Regions from separate parts of the Homo sapiens genome. Here region 1 is linked to region 2. Evidence: promoter capture Hi-C in human tissues and cell types (Jung and others, 2019). All regions are on one chromosome and are shown on one strand. Each heading gives the region's core, a stretch centred on a gene start or on the middle of the fragment in contact. The rest is flanking DNA. Distances are from core to core; before and after follow the strand shown. Region 1 overlaps COL5A1 (collagen type V alpha 1 chain). Region 2 holds the start of DNLZ (DNL-type zinc finger).

Evidence for each region. The method cuts DNA at HindIII sites, captures the fragments that hold promoters and counts their contacts. A contact is called where the count stands out against the background at its distance.
Region 1: a contact is called between a fragment that was not itself captured here and the fragment with the promoter of DNLZ in region 2, in 1 of the 25 tissues and cell types used here (dorsolateral prefrontal cortex).

The regions. Positions count from the first base shown.
Region 1 is chr9:134,741,426-134,746,994 of GRCh38, reverse strand. The region is part of intron 11 of COL5A1 (collagen type V alpha 1 chain); the gene reads right to left. Among named protein-coding and RNA genes, the nearest start is that of COL5A1-AS1, 91 kb to the right of the region's middle. The HindIII fragment of the contact is 7,573 bases long and covers 1-5,264 here.
Region 2 is chr9:136,362,380-136,368,295 of GRCh38, reverse strand. DNLZ (DNL-type zinc finger) reads left to right here and starts at 4,552. Exons shown (of 3, transcript NM_001080849.3): 1 at 4,552-4,809; 2 at 5,168-5,307. The coding sequence starts at 4,582. It overlaps CARD9 (caspase recruitment domain family member 9), which reads left to right. Exons shown (of 13, transcript NM_052813.5): 8 at 468-659; 9 at 1,039-1,080; 10 at 1,451-1,496; 11 at 3,079-3,155; 12 at 3,737-3,813; 13 at 3,895-4,340. The coding sequence ends at 3,994. It overlaps LOC124902309 (a long non-coding RNA gene), which reads right to left and starts at 4,927. Exons shown (of 2, transcript XR_007061863.1): 1 at 4,844-4,927; 2 at 1-672. RefSeq lists enhancers at 2,195-3,084, 3,085-3,975 and silencers at 4,187-4,286, 4,317-4,816, 4,917-5,196. The HindIII fragment of the contact is 10,875 bases long and covers 2,044-5,916 here.

The sequences.
Region 1 (5,569 bases), core at 229-2,728, 1.6 Mb after region 2:
GACCCCTGGGCTGAAAGACACGGCTACACCTCAAAGTCACATTTCCAATTTTCATGACACAAAGCACGGGCCAGCGATGTGGCTGTTGTCTGCGACAAGGCAGGTGTCAGACACCAAGGGAACGCTCCAGCAGGCCCACACACAGGTCATGCGGATGCTGCTTGGCTCCAGCCACAGGCAAAATATGGCAAAATAAGAAATCCCACCTTGCCTTTGCTATTTGCATGTATTTTCCTGTTACTCCATTAGCTGGCCCCCAAATCAGTGCCCTAACTTGGTCAAACAGCAATGTTCTGAAGGCCCTGGCACAGGAGGGCTCTCAGTGTCATACCTATACCAGGTGAAGAAATCAGGTGCCTACTTCCAAATGAAGGCACCACTGGTATCTAACAGGGTTTCTTTCCTGAGGACGTCCAGACGTCCTTTGCACAGAGACGATGTGGCTGGGTGACCAGATGCCTCACAAAGTGGCTCCCTCTGCCACTGCAGATTCAGCACGTGAAACTGTCCCCACGAGACCCTCGGCTCAACCTCAGGGGAGAGGCACAAGGCCTCTTTCCAGGCCGGGATTTGGGTCAAAGCAGTGAGCAGAGAACTCTGAGCCTTTTCTCTTCATGGTGGTGGCAGGTTTGGGAGGAGCTGTAGGCCTGCAGGAGGCTTTGTGTTGAAAAGCTCCCTTCCACTCTCGGAAAGAGCTGGAGCAGGAGGGCAGTGTGCAGGCGTCTCTCCAGAACCTTTGTGTGCATGTGGTTCTGTCCAGGCCCGACCCTGGGCAGGCCCAGCTCGGGAGTGGCTGGGAGAAGCTCTCAGTGGTCACTTCCTGCTGGACATCTCCTGGCTGTGCAGAACACGTACGTGCATGACCACGCGCGGTGGGCTGAAGGGTCTCTCATCAAAGGTACATCCAGGTCCTGAAACACGTGACTGTGCCCTTACTTGGGGTCTTTGAGGATGGGAGTGAGGATCTTGAGATGAGATCTTGGGTCCTAAATCCAATGATGAGTCCTTGTAAGGGAAGAGGAGGGGAGGCAGTGACAGAGACACAGGGGAGGGCTGGGTGAAGACAGAGGCAGAGACTGCAGAGATGCGCCGGCAAGCTACAAGGGCAGAGGACGGCCAGTGGCCACCAGGAGCCAGAAGAGGTGAGGAAGACCCTCACCTGGAGCCTCCAGAGGGGGTGCGGCCCTGCCTACACCTTGATTTCAGATTTCTGGCCTCCAGAACTAAGAGAGAAGACATTCCTGTTGCTTTAAACCCCAAGTTGGTCATCAATTGTCCGAGGATCCCAAAGAAATGAACCCACCATTCGTTCGTTCATTGAGAGGGTTCCTACTGAGCCCCTTCCAAGAGCTAGACAGACACTCTTCCAGGAGCCCTAGGGCCCATCTAAAAGACTGGAAGCGGGGCCCTATCAAGAAGCCTGATGCCTCAGACCGCACCCCTCAACCAGAACTAACAACCAGAAAATCCACAGGAGGGGCTCTTTATCCATAGGCCACCAATAATCGGGGCTCTGGGTAAGACCTGCGGCCTTAAGGGGCCCACGTGAGAAAGACTCCTGGACTCACCCAGCCATTGCCACTAACTGACCGTGATGAACACCCTGGCAGACCCTGCATGGGGTCCTACAGCATAGTGCACTTGGCGCCATTCATGCAGCTCCTGCCAGCTGTCCCTTCACTCTAGAAATGTCCCGAGGCCTTTGCTCCCTTCACCTCTCTCTCCACAAACTGTACTTGATTTTCTTTTCCATATGATAATGTATACCCTCCAATGAATCTTCAACACTGAGCTCGCTTTGGGAGACACACACTGCCTCCAGGGCTACAGCAGAGAAACCCACAGTTCCCACTGATCTCCTGGTATGGCACCTGAGGCTTGGACAGATTCCTATCAGTGGCCTCAGGGGACTAAGCTTTGAAGATAAATGTGACTCGAAATGGCCAGAAGTCATTCACGACCAGGCTGCTGGGGATTCGGGCACACAAGCCTGCAGACCAGCCTCCATGGAAGGGCCGTGTGGAGGTGAACCCAGACAGCGCACGCGTGCATGTAGATGTGTGTGCACGTGCACGCCTGGGTGTGTGCATATGTGCATGAGTGTGTGTGCAGGTGTGTGAGTGCATGTGTGTAAATGTGTGTGCATGTGTATGGATGAGTGTGCATGCATGCATGAGTGTGCGAATGTGTGTACATGTGTGGGTGTATGTGTGTGCATGTATGAGTGAGCATGTGCATGAATGTGTGTGCAGGTGTGTGAGTGCATGTGTGTGTAACTGTGTGAGAGCATGTATGGGTGTGTGCATGCATGTGTGAATGTGTGTGCATGTGTGTGAGCGTACCTGTGTGCATGTCTGGGTGAGTGTGTGCATGAGTGTGTGTGCAGGTGTGGGTGAGTGTGCATGTGTAAGTGTGTGTGCATGCATGTATATGTGGATGTGTGTGCATGTGTGGGTGTGAGTGTGCATGTATGGGGGTGTGCATGAGTGTGTGCAGGTGTGGGTGACTGTGCATGCATACGTGTATGTATAGGTGAGTGTGTGCGTGTACACATGAGTGTGTGCGTGTGTGGGTGTGTACATGTGTGCATATACGGTTGAGTGTGTGCATGTATGCATGTGTGGGCATGTATGCATGAGTGCGTGCACGTAGGCATGAGTGTGTGTGCATGAGTGCATGTGAATGTGAGTGCATGTGTGGGTGAGTGTGCAAGCGTGTGTGCTTGAGTGTGTGTGTGAACCTCTCTGAGCAGCTCTGCCAAGATGTCCTGAACACTTCTAAAGACAAGGAGAGACTGGATTGGCGTGTCCCATCCACAGGAGCCTGGGAGCCAGGAAAGCAAATGAATCCCATGCTGCTTGCTTCTTCCCCACAGCTTTTCTCGAAGCTAACTCCTTCGGAGTCAGACAGCAGCTGCGTGCTCGTGAGTGGACTTGCTCACTCTGTCAAGTTGCCAGTGATCTAGCCTGTGTCCTCTCCCACCCTGGGTGTAGCACCAGCAGGCCATGGGGAGGGGATGGCATAGCAGGGCATCACCCCAAGGCTGGTCCTGGGGAGACCACACCAGAACCTGTTAGGTAGAGGTGAGCCACACTTTCTGGCTGGGAGGTAGTGACTGCTGTTTTTCAGGGCATGGCTTACATACGAAACTTTTCAAGGCACAGAAAATGCACTCACGCAAAATCCCATGGGGAAGGCTAATCCTGGACACATAAAAAAGAGGGGGAGAAGGTTTGAGCCCCTGCTGAGTGACAGGAGGGGCTGATAAGACAGCGCCGGGCAGCATCATTATTGCCAGGCTGCTTCTGCACATAATGGGGTCATTGAAGGGTGGGGGCCTCCTCCCAAGGCATCAAATGCATCCCACTGTGCAGGGAGCGAGGTGCCCCTGTGTGGCAATTTGGAGAAAGCTTGGGAAACTGCCTCCACTCTGACCCTGAGGCGGCTGGGAAAGAAACCTGCATACTGAATCCCTGGGGCTTCCCAGAGGAGGATCCAGGCCCCCCAGCAGGTGGGACCTGCCCACAGACCCAGAAGCAGATCGCTACTTTACCCAAAAGTAATAAATATGCTGTAGGTGGAAAGATCTGTGTGAAGTCTCTCTTAAGAGCAATAGATGAGTGGCTGGTCAACACCAGCTGGCGCTCTCGGGAGTCAATTAGACGGTAAGCAAGCTTATTTCTAGATGAAAACGTTAAACTCTCCAGTGGACTGCGGAGATTCAGGAGGAGTTTGGCCACAGCATCCTGAAAAATGCAATCAAATCCACAGTAACACTGGACGGTATTCAGGAGCTGCCTTAAAACACAGGAGTGCCTGGGGTGCAAGGCTTTTGGAGAGGCACACGGGGAAGGGAAAGGAAGGGACTCGCCTCAAAGACGCTCTGATCACAGGGAACATTTCTTAGGCACAAATATCCGTGGACACCAGCTCTGGGGCACACACGCGAATGGATGTAGGGGGCGCTCACAAGCAGCACAGAGGTGGCGCCTGCCTTCCGGGTGTTTCTATCGAGGCTAGCAGGTGTGGGCCCTGGAAGTCCATGGAAGGCGGGACTCACTGGGGCCTGAATCTTTACTGATGGTCCCCAGCCCTCTCCTTCCCCCACCTGCCCGAGGAGCCCAGGGAAGGGCTTCGCTGGGCAAACACTGCTCAGCGACCCACAGGGGCACGGCACTGCCACCATGGCATCATAGGGAACCTTCACAAATGCACAGCCTCATGATTTCAGACCCACTGATATCTCACTATATTCCCGGATGCGCAAAAGAGTCAGCCCCTACAGAAACGCACTGGCAGGTGGCACAGAAGCCAGACCCACAAGAAACCCAGGCCAGAGAGGGGCTGAGTAACGGCCACCTGGCCTGCAGCTCACTTGGGGACTCCCAGCTCTCTTGGGTTTCCTCTGAACCTCAAAGTAAGAGTGGCCACCTTCCTTCTGCCACAGGAGATCTGAGTTCAACCCCAGGTCTACCTCTATCTCCCTGCGGGCACATTGCCCCAGCTGTGCACCTGCTCACCAGTCACCTGAGGGAAACTGGATGGGATGATGGTTCGAGCCCCTTCTCCACCCGGACACAGCCGCTCCAGACCTCCCATCTCGGGATTCCCAGCTCTTCCTCCAATGCCTTTACTAATTAATTCTTGCTGTCTAACCGTGCCTGGTCTGTGCCTTTTCTTCCTCACTGGACGGTGAGTTTCTTAAGGCAGGCCCCACTTCTGTGCCTCTCCTTGCACTCTGCTCCCTGCGGGCAGCCGTGGGCACAAGAGCAAGAAAGGATTTGAGGTGCTAGAAGGCAGATGCAGCATGGAAGGTCATCCAAGGGGAGCAGCGGGAGAGTGTGCAGGGCTCACCAGAGTGTGTGAAGGAAGCAACACCCAGGGCCAGCCAGTGGAGGCACAGGGTGTGGGCTTCAGCAGCTGGTCAGGGCTGCATGATACCCAGTGGGATGCCACGGCACAGGTGCACAGACGGCTCCCAGCCAATTGCCACGGCTGCCCACGGCTGCCCACAGGGAGCAGGGTGTGAGGAAGGGCACAGAAGTGAGGCCTGTCTTGAGGAACTCACCATCCAGTGAGGAAGAAAAGGCACAAACCGGTCACGGCCAGACGGCCCTTGGGGAAGGGAGGAAGGGCTGGGGAAGCCCAAGGCGGGAGGTTGGGAGTGGCAGGGAGAAGAGGGCTCTTCCAGACCCCAGGGAAAAGGCCCTCCCAGACAGAGGCACAGGAGGCCAAGCAGACGGAGGGGACAGAGCACGCCACTCCCCTGCAGAACGACTATTTTCTGCTGAAGCCAAGTAAGAATCGACGGACGCAAGAAGAGTTCTCTTACCTCCCCTCTTCTGCCTAAAAGCAGGGCATTACCCCCTCCTCCCACCCCACCCTCCTGCCTCTGCTTCTGTACCAGGATTTGGAGAGCGCCCCTTATCACCTGAGAGGGAGGCCAGCCCCCAGTGAATCTGCATCAACAGACTTTGCCAAGATAACCTTAATCTTCCATTCGTTCCTCCATGGAGTTCCTAGTCACTTGCCCACCATCTGTCACCCCGCGAAGCCCAAACCCCCTTTT
Region 2 (5,916 bases), core at 3,303-5,802:
GCAGAAGGGGTTAGGTGAGGGCCTCCCAGCCTCGGCTGCAGGGGTGGTCAAGCCGTCGTGTTTGCACATTCGCTCCTGCGTCTCAGTGTCCGCAGTGAGGACAGGGGTGGTAAAGAGTGCTGCGGTCACGAAGGACGCTTAGCTATGGACAGTCAGGGTCTCCATATCAAGCCGCGTCCAAAATTTATCAAATGTGCACGTGTGGGGGTACATAGCACACGCTGTGTCCACCGGGGGTGCAGGCTTGGGAGGAGACAGAAGGGCAGCAGGGACAACTGTCACATTTACAATCCCCCACGTGCTGACTTCGTGTCCGCAGAGCACACAAATGGAGGGGCTGTGACCAGCCTCCGCGCCCAGCGGCTTGACGTCCTCCGGAGCCTCTGCTTGGAGTTGGGCGGCCGGGCCGAGGGCCCAGGGCAAGCTTGGGGCCCTCACTGAGGGTCGGCCTTGTGCTGTCCCGTCAGGCCATAGCCACGCGGGAGGAGCTGCACGCACAGCACGCCCGGGGCCTGCAGGAGAAGGACGCGCTGCGCAAGCAGGTGCGGGAGCTGGGCGAGAAGGCGGATGAGCTGCAGCTGCAGGTGTTCCAGTGTGAGGCGCAGCTACTGGCCGTGGAGGGCAGGCTCAGGCGGCAGCAGCTGGAGACGCTCGTCCTGGTGGGCCTGGGGCCTGCGGCAGGGAGGGGAGCCGGCGCGTGGGATGCAGGGCCAGGGGAGCACGGAGCCTCAGCCCCGGCCTTCCCGACCCAACCCTTCTCTGTGACGGGCCCCAACCTAACCAAACCCCTCCTGGCAGTGGGGTGAGGGCACACGAGCAGTTCAGGGTCCCAGCAGGAAGTGGGGCTGCAGGGCCGGGGTGGGTCCTGGGCCTGGCCATCAGGCAGCCTAGCAGGTTGTTCTGGGCATGGAGGGGGCCTGGTGTGGCTGAGGGCATGCCCAGGGCTCCCTGGAGGATCCCGCTCTGTGCCCTGCCCACCCTGTGCCTGGGGAGCCCTCTGCCCTCACAGCCCACCCACCCCATTTTCTATGACCACAGAGCTCCGACCTGGAAGATGGCTCACCCAGGAGGTCCCAGGAGGTGAGTGAGACCCCAGCCAGCACGAGGCTGGCCTTCCTTCACCTGGGGTCCTGGCTGAGCTGCCACCAGGCATAGCCCCACACTGCCCGTCACATGGCCCTGCTCGGTGGGCTGGGCTGGGTGGAGGAAGAGCAGGTGGCCAAATGCTAAGGCCTCTGATGGCTCAAGGGGTAAGGTAAGGCACGGACAGTGCCCACCTCCTGGCCGCCCAATGTCCGTCTGCTGGGCACCTGAGTCTCTGAGAAGCTCTGTGCAGGGGGTGACGGCAATGGCTGCACCCAGCTGAGGGCCAAGGGCTGGGGTGGGCAGTGTGGCCGGGTCCAGTCCTTGGCGAAGTGGCCTAATGGGACATCTTGACTCTCTTTGGAAGCTCTCACTCCCCCAGGACCTGGAGGACACCCAGCTCTCAGACAAAGGTGAGGTGGGGACAGCAGTACACCCAGAGGCCTCCCAGCTTCCCCAAGTGAGGCCCATCTTCAGCACAGGCAGCCCGTGCCGCAATGCCTGTGTCAACCCCCACAACCCCCACTCCACAGACAGGGAAACTGGGGCTGGGGATAAGTAAAATGGTCAAGGTCACCTAGAGAACAAACTACAGAGCCCAGCTGGAACCCAGGGCCCCAGCTAGTGGGACAAGTGTCCCCTGGGGTGGAGAGTGTGGGGGTCTGGGCAGCCCCCATGGGCTGCAGAGGTGAGCAGGCCCACCGTCCTGAGAGTGTGGGGCCCCTCTGGGCAGCCCCCACGGGGTGCAGAGGTGAGCAGGCCCAGTCCTGGCTGCTCCAAGCTTCCTCCTGGACAGAGGGAGGTGGTAACGAGCGAACGACCAGGTGCATGAAGCTAGAAGATGGGGCGAGATGGGGCCCCACGTGGCTTGAGGGAAAGGGCTGAATGCAGGGGTGGCCAAGGGCCTGCTGTGTCCCGGTGCAGTGGGGGTAAGGCAGTGGCAGGGGCTTCTAGCGGGCAGGGCAGGCCCCCTCTGCCTGTCTGGGGGAAGGACTGGGTGGCTAGCTGGGAGCAGCTCCCGAGTGTCCAGGAGTGGGCAGTGGTGATGAGGTAGGTGTTTGCACTGAAGGTGCTGTCAGGTAGGGGTTGGGGAGGGCCCAGCAGAGGGGTCCTGGGAGGCTGCACCGGAGTTGGACAAGCTTCCTGAGTACCAGGCCGTGGCCTCCAAGCAGAGGCGGAAGGGGAAGGAGGAGCCGCAGACGGGGAAGTGAAGACCAGCGCCTTTGGCTGCAGCTCAGAACACTTGAACATGGGGATGCCAAGCCCCCATGTAGGCACAGAGGCGAGCAGGACCCAGGAGTCCGGCTCAGGCACTGCCCCCATCCCCCTGGGTGGCTGTGGCAGGAGCAGGGGCAGGTGTGAAGGTTGGAGGGTGAGCAGGGGAGGGGCTGGCTCTAAGGGGCTGCCAATGGCCAGGACAGCCCTGGCCTGGCCCTCACCGCAGTGGGGCTGAGACTGGACGTGCGTGGTTTCTGCCCAAGGGTCCTGATCCCTGGTCTGCCCAGGTCCTGGCGGTTTCTGAGGGGGTCCAGCCGCCTGAAGGTTCTCTCCCAATTGCTGCAGTACCCCTGCCCCCACTTCAGGAGGACCCAGACAGCCACTGTAGCTGTCCCCAACTCTCTCCCCAGGGCCGCCATGCCCACAGATGCTTTGGAGTGATGGGGGACGGTGCTGCTCAGGCCCAGGGTTTAAGTTCCCCCGAGGTCTGGGAGGCGTTCCTCCCTGGCAGGCAGCCAGCTCGGGGGAGGGATGGTCACTGGCGGGAGCGTTGGGCCTGGGCTGGCATCTGGCGGCCTCCTGGAGCAATGAACAGGCAAGCGAGGCCATAAGGCCTCAGTCTCATCTACAGAAAGCAGAGTCTACACTGGACCCATGTGGGGATCCCACCAGGCCTTGGAAGACAGCCCCACTGCAATGCCGGGGAGGGGTGGGGCAGCCGTGCTATACGTGGCCCAGCAGATGGGCAGGTCCCACAGGCACGACTCTCCTTTCCAGGCTGCCTTGCCGGCGGGGGGAGCCCGAAACAGCCCTTTGCAGCTCTGCACCAGGAGCAGGTTTTGCGGAACCCCCATGTAAGGCTTCCCCGGGGTGGGGTCCTCCCAGCCGTGGGCCTCAGGGTGACCGATCACAGGGAGAGTGGCTCCCTGCCCTGGGCACCCCCTGCGGTGGCCCCGACGACAGCTGAGGAGTGACCACAAGGTCTCTGCCCACAGTGCTCGGGGTGCGGTGTCTGGGCTGCGAAGTGGATCCCCCTTTCTTGGGCACTGCAGCAGCTTGGGGGGCTTTTTGGACGTGGATGTGCCTGGTCCTGGTTTTCCGAGGGCCTTTACAGTGGATGAGGAGGTGAACACAGGAGTCCTGAGAGCAAGCACCACCTCGGGCTTTGTTGTAGAAACAATGGCCCGGACCCCAGGCTGGAGCCGTGGCTTGGCCTCCTGGGTGTGTCTTGGCATCTGAAATGCAGGCTACCCACACCGGCTCACCTCCAGGGGTACAGGCAGGTCCCACAGGGAGAGCTTGGCGCTGAGCTGAGGCTGTCTGGGCTCCTCGCCTCCCAACCAGTCTGCAGTTACAGGGGCCAGTGGGGGGCGGGTGAGAAGGACGGGTTCCCTCAGGGGAGCCGGCCGGAGCCCGAGCCTTCCCCCTTCTCCAGGACGCAGGCCTGAGCAGCGGGGAGCCGCCCGAGAAGGAGCGGCGGCGCCTCAAAGAGAGTTTTGAGAACTACCGCAGGTAGGCGGGCGGCCCCCAGGCTTCTCCAAAACGGGCTGGGGAGCGGCAGCCGGGTCGCGCCTGAGACACCTGTCTTCACAGGAAGCGCGCCCTCAGGAAGATGCAGAAAGGATGGCGGCAGGGGGAGGAGGACCGGGAGAACACCACGGGCAGCGACAACACCGACACTGAGGGCTCCTAGCCGCAGCAGCGCAGGCCCCGACCAGGGCACACCCACCGGCCCGGCCTCCTGCCACCCGGGGGTGCCGACGCCCTGGGGCGCAGACTTCCCCGAGCCGTCGCTGACTTGGCCTGGAACGAGGAATCTGGTGCCCTGAAAGGCCCAGCCGGACTGCCGGGCATTGGGGCCGTTTGTTAAGCGGCACTCATTTTGCGGAGGCCATGCGGGTGCTCACCACCCCCATGCACACGCCATCTGTGTAACTTCAGGATCTGTTCTGTTTCACCATGTAACACACAATACATGCATGCATTGTATTAGTGTTAGAAAACACAGCTGCGTAAATAAACAGCACGGGTGACCCGCATTCCCGCTCGGACACTCGCGCGCAGCCCCGCGGCCGTCCCTCCTCGCTGCGGCCCGCGGTGTCCTCGGGGTGCGAGCTGCACGTGGACGCAGGGCCCCCTCAGGCCGCCAGGGGGCGGCATAGCGCAGCGCGCCCCCGACCCGGAAGACGGAAGCCCAAGAACGCCGCTTCCGCCCGGCGCCCACTTCCAAGATGGCGGCGGGGCGGGGCCGGGGCAGGGCGGACGGAGCCGGCGAGCGGGATGCTGCGGACTGCGCTGCGCGGCGCGCCGAGGTTGCTGAGTCGCGTGCAGCCCCGGGCGCCCTGCCTGAGGCGGCTGTGGGGCCGCGGGGCCCGTCCAGAGGTCGCGGGGAGGCGGCGGGCCTGGGCCTGGGGCTGGCGGCGCTCAAGCTCCGAGCAGGGGCCGGGGCCCGCGGCGGCTCTGGGGCGCGTGGAGGCGGCGCACTACCAGCTCGTCTACACCTGCAAGGTAGGCGCGCGGCGGGACGGAACCGGGGACAGACCCGTATCTGACGCTACACGGCCTGCGGGGAGAAGCGGCCCGCCGGGGATCCGGGAGGCGGCGTGGTCAAGTCACAGGAAGGAGTGGAGCCACCCCTTGGGGCTTCTGGGAGGGAGCGGAGGCGGACCATGAGGAGGGGTGGAGCCGTCCCTGGGGCGGGGCCTTCCCGGGAGAGGGCGAGGTTGGGGGTGGGTGGAGCTATCCCTCGGGGGCGGGGCCTTCTCTGGAGAGGGTGAGGTGGCTGGAGCTACCCCTAGAGGGGCGGGTCTTCCCGGGAGGGGCGTGGCGGCCCTCACAGCCTCACCAGCTACCCTGTCCCAGCCAGGTCTGCGGGACTAGGTCCTCCAAGCGCATCTCCAAGCTGGCCTATCACCAAGGCGTGGTCATTGTGACCTGCCCCGGCTGCCAGAACCACCATATCATCGCTGACAACCTGGGCTGGTTCTCGGACCTGAATGGGAAGAGGTGAGGCCTGTACCCCAGGGCTGGGCCAGAAGGCCACCCAGAAGTACCCTGGCCTCCCTGGGGGAACCTTGCCCTAGTGTTGAGGTTTATAGATCTCACCTGGGAAATCCAGCCACCTTATCAATACAAGACACACAGTTAAATGAGAATTTCCTATAAAGCCCAGATAGCTTTTGAGTTTAAGTATGCCCCAAGTAGGGGGTGCGTTTTTATTTGTTAAATTTTGCCAGCCCTGTGGCCCTGCCTCCCTGCCTCTGCCTGCCCTCTGCCATCACTGGCAGCCTTGTCCCTCTCTAGCGTGGAACTTTTTTGCCCTCTGCCATCTTGGGGTGGCTGGCCCACAGCAAGGCTTGGGGTGTGGACCAGGAGGTGTGGCCTGGGCCCTGGCTGCTGGGAGAGCAGTGGAGGTGGTGCCGGGAGCCTGGTCCGGGCCTTGCCTGGCCGGGAGGTCCTGGGCAGGACAGTAACAGCGACAGCAGGTCTGAGACCAGCATGCCAGGTGCTTGGTGGTACCTGGCCCTTGGAGCTGGGACTGTCCTCCCATCAGACCCGGGGCTGCAGATTCTTCCCTCTGGCACATAGGGGGCAGGAGCAGGAGACTGGGTTCCT